2 separate regions of the Homo sapiens genome follow, and region 2 is linked to region 1. The links are contacts of gene promoters, found by promoter capture Hi-C in human tissues and cell types (Jung and others, 2019). All regions are on one chromosome and are shown on one strand. Each heading gives the region's core, a stretch centred on a gene start or on the middle of the fragment in contact. The rest is flanking DNA. Distances are from core to core; before and after follow the strand shown.

Region 1 (3,494 bases), core at 735-3,234:
GCAGTCATCAACAGAGCAGGAGCACAGGCCAGTCCCCTAGCCCCTCACTTCCCAGAGCAGAGGCAGCCTCAGAGGGATGAGGGAGCCTGAGGGCGCCTGGGAGGCCTCACCCAGCTGCTGGAGGGTGGTGTTGCCCTTCAGGGCTAGGGCCAGCTCCTCCGCGCCCTTGTGACTGATCTGGTTGTTGCGGAGGTCCAGCCGCTGCAGGGCGCCGTTGGCCGCCAGGCCCCCGCAGAAGGTGGCGAAGGCATCGTCCCACGTGCCCAGGCTGTTCCACTCCAGCGTGAGGCTGCAGGAGGGGCAGAAGCCAGTGTTCACCTAGGGGACTGCCTAGCCCGTGGGGTCCAGGGCTTGGGGACGGGTGTGGGCTTGGGGTCTGATGGGCCGGAGCCTCTGCCTACCCCTGCCAACGTATGTGAAACATGGGCACCTGGCAATGGGGAACTCTTGGGCTGCAGAAGCATGTGCTCGGGGCCAATCCTCAACCACACAGAGACAGGGCCTGGGGTCGGGACCACCACCCACCTCTGAATGGACTTGTTCTGTTGGAGGAGTTTTCCCAGAGCCTCGGCCCCTGCAGCCCGAAGGTTGTTGCCCTAGGAGAGAAACAGGCCGGTAGTCACTCGCGTGCCCTGACTGGCTCTGAATTCCCGCCCATGCCCCAAGGGCCTTGGTCAGCCAGGGGACAAGCCTGGGGTGCACCCTGCAGCCTTCCTCAGCTCCTGGGCTCCCTGTCTTCAGGGGGCTTCCAAGGGCCGGCTTGTTTGCCAATGTGAACTCTTGCTCTGGAGATGGTCACACACAGGAGGCCATCAGAGAGCGGCCTGGGGACTCACAGACAGCTTCCAGCCACCTGCCCAGACCCCAGGCCCCCGAGACCTGGCATCTTCCACCTCTCCTCTTGCCCTTGGGTGGCACACTCGGACACTCAAGAGTGCAGGTATCTCACCTTTAAGTCCAGAAAGCGCAGCACGGTGTTGGCACACAGGCCTCGGAGCAGCAGTGTGGCCCCTGTGTAAGGGGGGCCGGCGGTCACTCTCTGCCCCTGCTGACCCCAAGGCCCTCCCCGTGGGCCCCTTTTCAGGGCAGCTCCCTAGACCCAGGAAGGGACAACTGTCCCGATGGTCTGGGTTGGCGCTGGCCAAGAGTCTCGCTGCGAAGTCATGTTTGAAACACCTGCAGCCCCTGCCAGGCACCAAGCCGGCTCTGCACGCGGGGAACCAGGTAAGACCGCGAATGTTAAGGCCTCTCCCCCGTCATACAGAGGAACTGCCCTCTACTCCCAGGTGCAGGAAGGGGCGCCCCTGCTCGCTTTAACTACGGCACAGAAATTGGAGAGCCTGGAGAGGAAGCGACCTCGGGCTGCCGAGGCAATGGTGTGGGCAGCTAAGGAGCAGAGGGATCCACCCCGCCGCGCCTGCCCACCTTCCTCGCTGAGCATGCAGTCACTCAGGACCAGCTCCGTGCACAGCGTCTCCCTCGGCAGCAGCTTGCCCAGGGCCCTGCAGGTCTCCACCGTCAGGCTTTGCGTGGCCAGGTCCAGCCGGCCCCTGGGAAGCTGGTGCAGCTGCTGCAGGACAGCCTCCTGGGGCTCGGCCCCACTCTCCCTGCACAGGCGGCTGTAGGAGCGCCGGAACTCCTCCATGACCCGCGGGGCCGGCAGGGCCTCCTCCGCATGCTCCCGCAGCTGCTGAAAGGGAGCCGCGCGGTGCGGAGCAGTCCCAGCGCCGGGTACAGGAGACGGGGCCTCCGCCGACCCGGGCGGAGAGCAATCCGAGTGGGCTCCGCGGGCGGGAGGTCCTGGGAGCGCGGGGCTGGGCGGTAGTCAAGGTCCGCTTTGGGCTGGGGCCCCGCAGTGCTTGGGGACCACCCGTGCAGGAAGCAGGCAGGTGCGTCGCGCGCCCCCACCCAGCCCTGCCCCGCCTGCAGCCCCGACCCCCGCCCTCGCGACAGCCGCGTCGGGGCCTCAGTATCCAGGAAGAACAAGGCGCGCCGGGAGAGGCCGCGGGAACTACAACTCCTAGCAGGCTCTGCGCAGGCAGCGCTTGGTGCGGGCCAATGAGAACAAAGGAACTGGCGCGCCTTTCGGGCCGCAAGCTGAGAGGGGGCAGCGCGCTCCAGGTTCATTGGCTAGGGGCATGAGGGTGGGGCCCCGGGAGGGCATGCTCCGGGCTCATTGGCTGAGGGTCGTGAGGGTGGTGCCCCGGGAGGGCGCGTTCCAAGTTCATTGGCTGCGGGACGTGAGGGAGGGGCTGCTGGAGGGCGCGCTCCGGGCTCATTGGCTGAGACGTGGGGGCGGGGCTCCGAGAGCAGGCGCTTCGGACTCATTGGCTAGGGGCGCGGGGCGGGGCTCCGGGGGCGCGCTCCGGTCTCATTGGCTGGAGGCGCGGGGCGGGGTTCCGGTGGGCGCGCGTTGAGGCTGCGGTCATGGAGGGAGCAGGAGCTGGATCCGGCTTCCGGAAGGTGAGGGCCGGAGGGCAGGGGCTAGGCAGGCGCGGACGCTCCGTCCCGACCTCACGCGTGACACTGTGAGGGCCAGACGCCAGCCCCCGCGCCGCCCCCTGTGCCTTTGAGGTTGGGCCCGTTCTCAGACTCCATCTCCGGCCGGGCCGCGCGCCCCGCGCCCTCGTGGGCTGGTGTCTCGCAGCTGGTAGGAGGGGGCGTGGAGCAGCCGGGGCTGCGGGAAGGTGGAGAGGGTCTGCAGAAACAGGCAGGGGTGGGCGCCGTCACGGCGGAGTCCAAGCCGGCGAAGAGAGAGGAGGAGCTGGGCCGCCGCCCTGCGCCCTGAGCCTGGGGTCTTTTGTTAAGGGGAGATGAGGCCCCAGGACGGGGACAGTGAGATCGTCCAGCCCGAGGAGCCGGCAGGACCTACCCCAGCCGCCAGGCACAGTGGTTTCCCTTTTGTTTGCTCCCCGGTGGGCGCCAGCACTGGGCTAGGAACGCGTGGTTTCTTCGGTGCTCCACGTTACACACACTTGACAGGGATTAACCCCACCTGCCAGTGGAGAAACTGAGGCACGGGGGCGTTAAGTGACTCAGCAGGGCTAGGGTCAGACCTAGGCCGTCTGAGCCAGGATCCGCCCAGGCTGGAGGGCGTGCCCTGCTCTTCCCTGTTCCTGGAAGTGGAGCTCTCTGGGGGTGCCATGTGCAGAGGACCCCATCGGTGCAGGCAGAGTGGTTTCTGAACCTTTCTACTGCTCTACCTGAAGGTTGGGGCACCGAGCTTCCTCGATGTCAGCAGGGCCTCGTGGGCCTCTGTGGCCTGGGAAGGGAGGGTCTCAGGCCCTTGTGAACCCATCCTGGAGGGAGGACTTCAGCCCTGTAGAAGCAGGGAGAATTCTGTTTCTCCTGAATCAGGCCCTTCTTTATCACCCAAGGCAGCAGGCGTGGGGGGCGGGGGGTGTCGGTGTGGGGAACTCTGGTGGTGGAGTTGAAGATTCTTGCCGGAATTCAGAAAGAGAAAGTCACTGAGGCTTGGGCCACCTCACTGGGTG
Region 2 (3,494 bases), core at 1-2,500, 220 kb after region 1:
ACCAGGGCTTAGGGCCACCTGAGCTCCACTGCCCCGGCCGCTTTGCAGGGCTGGCACCCCGTGTCCTGTCCCATGTCCTCCCTGGCAGAACACGTGACTCTTGGGCGCTCCTGGCTGCGTCAGGCTCCACCGATTCCCACTGGGGGCGGCTGAGGGACCCGCAGACCTGGAGCTGGGCCCCCAGGATGGGTGGAGCGGCCACTGGTCCAGGAAGGCAGCGGGGCTCCCAGGGCGTCCGCAAGGGGCCTCTCAGACGCTTTGAGGAGCTCCGGGATGGGAGCCGGGATGTTTTTGTGAAACCAGAGAAGGTAGTGGAAGGTCAGGGCACCGGGGCGGGATCAGGGGCCACAGGCTGTTGACAAAGCCCTATCCCTGCGCCCTCACCCCGTGGGGGCGGGGCAGGCGTGGGTGCACCCAGACCCCCCAACCCTGATGTCCCCAATACCAAGGGCAGAGAGCAGCCCTGGCCGGTCCTTGGAGGATGCGGGCGCCGAGGGGGCCGGGGTCAGTCGGTTCAGAGTCGGAGCATAAGCCCGGTGGCCGAGTCGGCCGGGTGGTGGGGCGCCGGGGGGGCCGGAGCCGGGCAGGGCAGTGACCCGCTTGCCGGGGTCAAAGTCGCCAGTGTGGGCCGCGGAAGAGGAGCGGCCAGGCGGGGCGCAGACACCCCTCACCCCATCCTGGGCCGCGCCGGTGCCACCGGGCAGTCCTCGGGGCAGGAGCCCACCGAGGGGAGACAGCGCTGGTGAGACCCCGCGCCTCGGGGACGCGTCCGCGGCGCTTTGTGCGCTCCCCAGGGCGGCGGGGCCCGGGGCCCTGAGTGGGGAGTGTGGCCGCTGCAGTGTGGCCGCCGCAGGGCGCCAGGCGGCCAGCGACACCCCCGCCCCCAGCCGCGCCCCCCAGGACCAGAGAACGGGGGAGGGGCTGAGACCCCTGGACCTGCCCGACGGTGCAGGACCGGGTGGTGTCCGAGCCGGGGTTGGGAACGGGGGTGTCTGACGGGACTGAGGAGCGCACCAGCCCGGACCCCGGAGACCGCCCGGCCGGCTCCCCGCTCCCCGCGCCCCCGGCCCCGCCGCGCCCGCCCCGCGGTCTCTGTCCCCACCGGGTCGACTCCCCAACGTCCCCTCGGGGCCGCGGCCCAGGTGCTCACCGCGCGGCGCTGCTCGGGGGTCGGCTTGGCTCCCCGCCGTCCTCTGGGCGCGCTCGGGTCGGGCGCCGGTGACCGCTCGTCTTCGCGGCGCTGCCAGATCGGGGTCGGTGCAAACTTTCCGGCGGCGACGCAGGGCGAGGGCGGCGGCGGAGGGCGGGCTCGGGGGCGGCCCCGCGGGGGTGGGAGCGGCAGCCGAGGGTCCCCGCCCGCCCTCCGCGCAGCCTCCCGGCGAGCTTCGGTCCTGCCCACCCTGCGCAGGGAGCGCCTCGTACCCCGGCCATACGCAGACTCGGCGCGCTGAATTCCACCCCGCGGACCCGCGCCCCACAGACCTTTGTCCCACGGGTCCTGGTTCCGCAGACCCTAATCCTGCAGACCCCTGAGCCCGCGGACCCTGGCCCAGCAGGTGGTGGTCGCGGTGGGTCCCAGCTCCGGGAGGGGACGCCCTGGGACGCGGAGGGGCGCGCGGGCGTGGGGGCCGTGGCTCAGCCCCCCTTCCTCTCGCTCCCTCCGCCTCCCTGGGCGCCCCCTCGCCCCCTTCCTCTCGCGTCCCCGGGTTCTCGCCCCTTCTTTCCTGATGCCTGCCTGATTTTCTGGAAAGACCGACACCCCCAGTCGCCCCCACCGCGGCTCCCGGTTCCTTCCCCTGCAGAGCAGACGGGGGCTGGAGTAGGGGCCAACATGGGTGACATGGGTGGACCGGCAGGGCGGTCCCTGGGGTGCCCTTTAACTCTTTCTGTGCCACATCCCCGGTCTCTGGCCAGTCCTGTCGCGCTAAGGCCCCTCCAGCAGCGCTGACCCTGGTCCCCCACCTGCTGGTCCTGCGGCCGCGGGGCGCTCTCTCCTCCGTCCCACCCGCTCCTTCCACACCACCTCCTTTCCTGGGAGTGGAGAAGCCCCAGCCAGAACCCCTGCCTTCCCCAAGAGGCACGCTCAGAGGGACATTCTCCCCTTCCTCACTCCCCCTAGAGCCACATCACACCTGGCTTTGGGGCCCTAGAACCTCAGCCCGCGCCCCTCCCCTTCCACCCCCAGCCATCCCTGCTCTGTGCCCAGTGATCTTGGGGTCACCACAACCCCATGGCGCCTTGAGGCCTCACCTTTCCTGGCCTCTCAGCATCCTGGGACACTGATGGTCATGCCTTCCTTCTAGAAAGTTCTCTCCGAGGCTGTGGCTTCCAGGATGAGCACTCTCCTCCTCCCACTTCCTCCCCTTCTCCTTCCCCCTCCTCCCTTCTCCCTGGAGAGGTCTTCCTCCAAGTCCCAGTCTTCTTCCCCACCCAGAGCCCCTCCCGCTGACACTTGTCTGCAGTGCCTGTCTCCGCTCCCGCTAGGAAGCCTCCCCTCCGGCATCTCCAATCCATCTCTGGGTCCTGCTCCACCTGCATTTCCCTAGACCTGTCCTGGCCACCCTCACCCTGGGACACCTCCTGCCCGTGGAGAGCTCCTCTGATAGGTGCCGTCCTTGGTCTTGGGGGTCCTTTCTCCCTAATTCTACTTCTGTTTTGGGGGCGTGGGAACCCAGGGTCTTAACCCCAGCCATTCCCCCTCCCAGGGGCCACTTCCCTCTGAAGCTTAGCCCAGCTCTGTGACCCCCACAGGCCTGCCCCCACCTGGTCCTCACTCCCCTGCATAGCCACACTGTGGGGGCTCCATGCTTCCCAGCCCATAGGAAGCCCTGTTCCCAGAGGGGGCCATTCTGTTTTAGTTGGAGCAGTGGCCAGAGGCAAAGGTCAGAAGGCAAAGGTCATAAAAGTTTGTCTCTACCTGCCAGCATCTGCTCCTGCTACTGCATCTTCTCCCCTCTCCACCCAAACCCTCCCTCAGCTCCTGCCCCCACCTCTCCAGAGGCACAGACAACAGGGTTCTGATCTTGGGTCATGGTGCTCCCCCTGCCAGCCTCAGTCCGAGACCTCTGTGAATGGCGGTGATGGCTAATGGGATGAGGGGGACCACCTCCTGGTGGCTGCAGGGACTGGGGTGAGGGTGCTGTAGGCTCTGCCTAAGTCAAGTGCCATGGGGCTGAAGAGACGGCGCACCGGCCCTGGAGAAGAGTCCTCCCTGCCCTCCTGTGTCTGGCCTTGTTTCCTGGAGGACAGGTCCCCACGGGGCAGAGGCCCAGCAGTCCCAGGTAAGCGCTGGGTGGCCGGAGTCTGGTACCTGCAGGAAGAGAAGTAGAAGAATAAATTTGGAGTGTGTGAAGGGGGCAAAGCCTGAAAGGTTCGGACTCAGTGTGGGGAGGGAGAGGGAACAGATGGGGTGGGGCACCTCCCCTGGGCTGGGTGACCCTTATTTATATGACTGAATCCATGACAAGATTGTTTGCTTGACCAAACTGTAGTCC

The links. The method cuts DNA at HindIII sites, captures the fragments that hold promoters and counts their contacts. A contact is called where the count stands out against the background at its distance.
Region 2: a contact is called between the fragment with the promoter of GCGR here and the fragment with the promoter of LRRC45 in region 1, in 1 of the 25 tissues and cell types used here (mesendoderm cells).

Annotation. Positions count from the first base shown.
Region 1 is chr17:82,021,795-82,025,288 of GRCh38, reverse strand. LRRC45 (leucine rich repeat containing 45) reads right to left here and starts at 1,984. Exons shown (of 17, transcript NM_144999.4): 1 at 1,426-1,984; 2 at 950-1,011; 3 at 526-596; 4 at 111-289. The coding sequence starts at 1,645. CENPX (centromere protein X) reads left to right here and starts at 2,411. Exons shown (of 5, transcript NM_001271006.2): 1 at 2,411-2,463. The coding sequence starts at 2,428. RefSeq lists enhancers at 1,011-1,934, 3,484-3,494 and a silencer at 1,671-2,720. The HindIII fragment of the contact is 20,224 bases long and covers 1-3,494 here.
Region 2 is chr17:81,801,906-81,805,399 of GRCh38, reverse strand. It overlaps GCGR (glucagon receptor), which reads right to left and starts at 1,250. Exons shown (of 14, transcript NM_000160.5): 1 at 1,151-1,250. It overlaps LOC105376789 (a long non-coding RNA gene), which reads left to right and starts at 655. Exons shown (of 4, transcript XR_001753046.3): 1 at 655-742; 2 at 3,050-3,494. RefSeq lists an enhancer at 1,282-1,781. The HindIII fragment of the contact is 39,466 bases long and covers 1-3,196 here.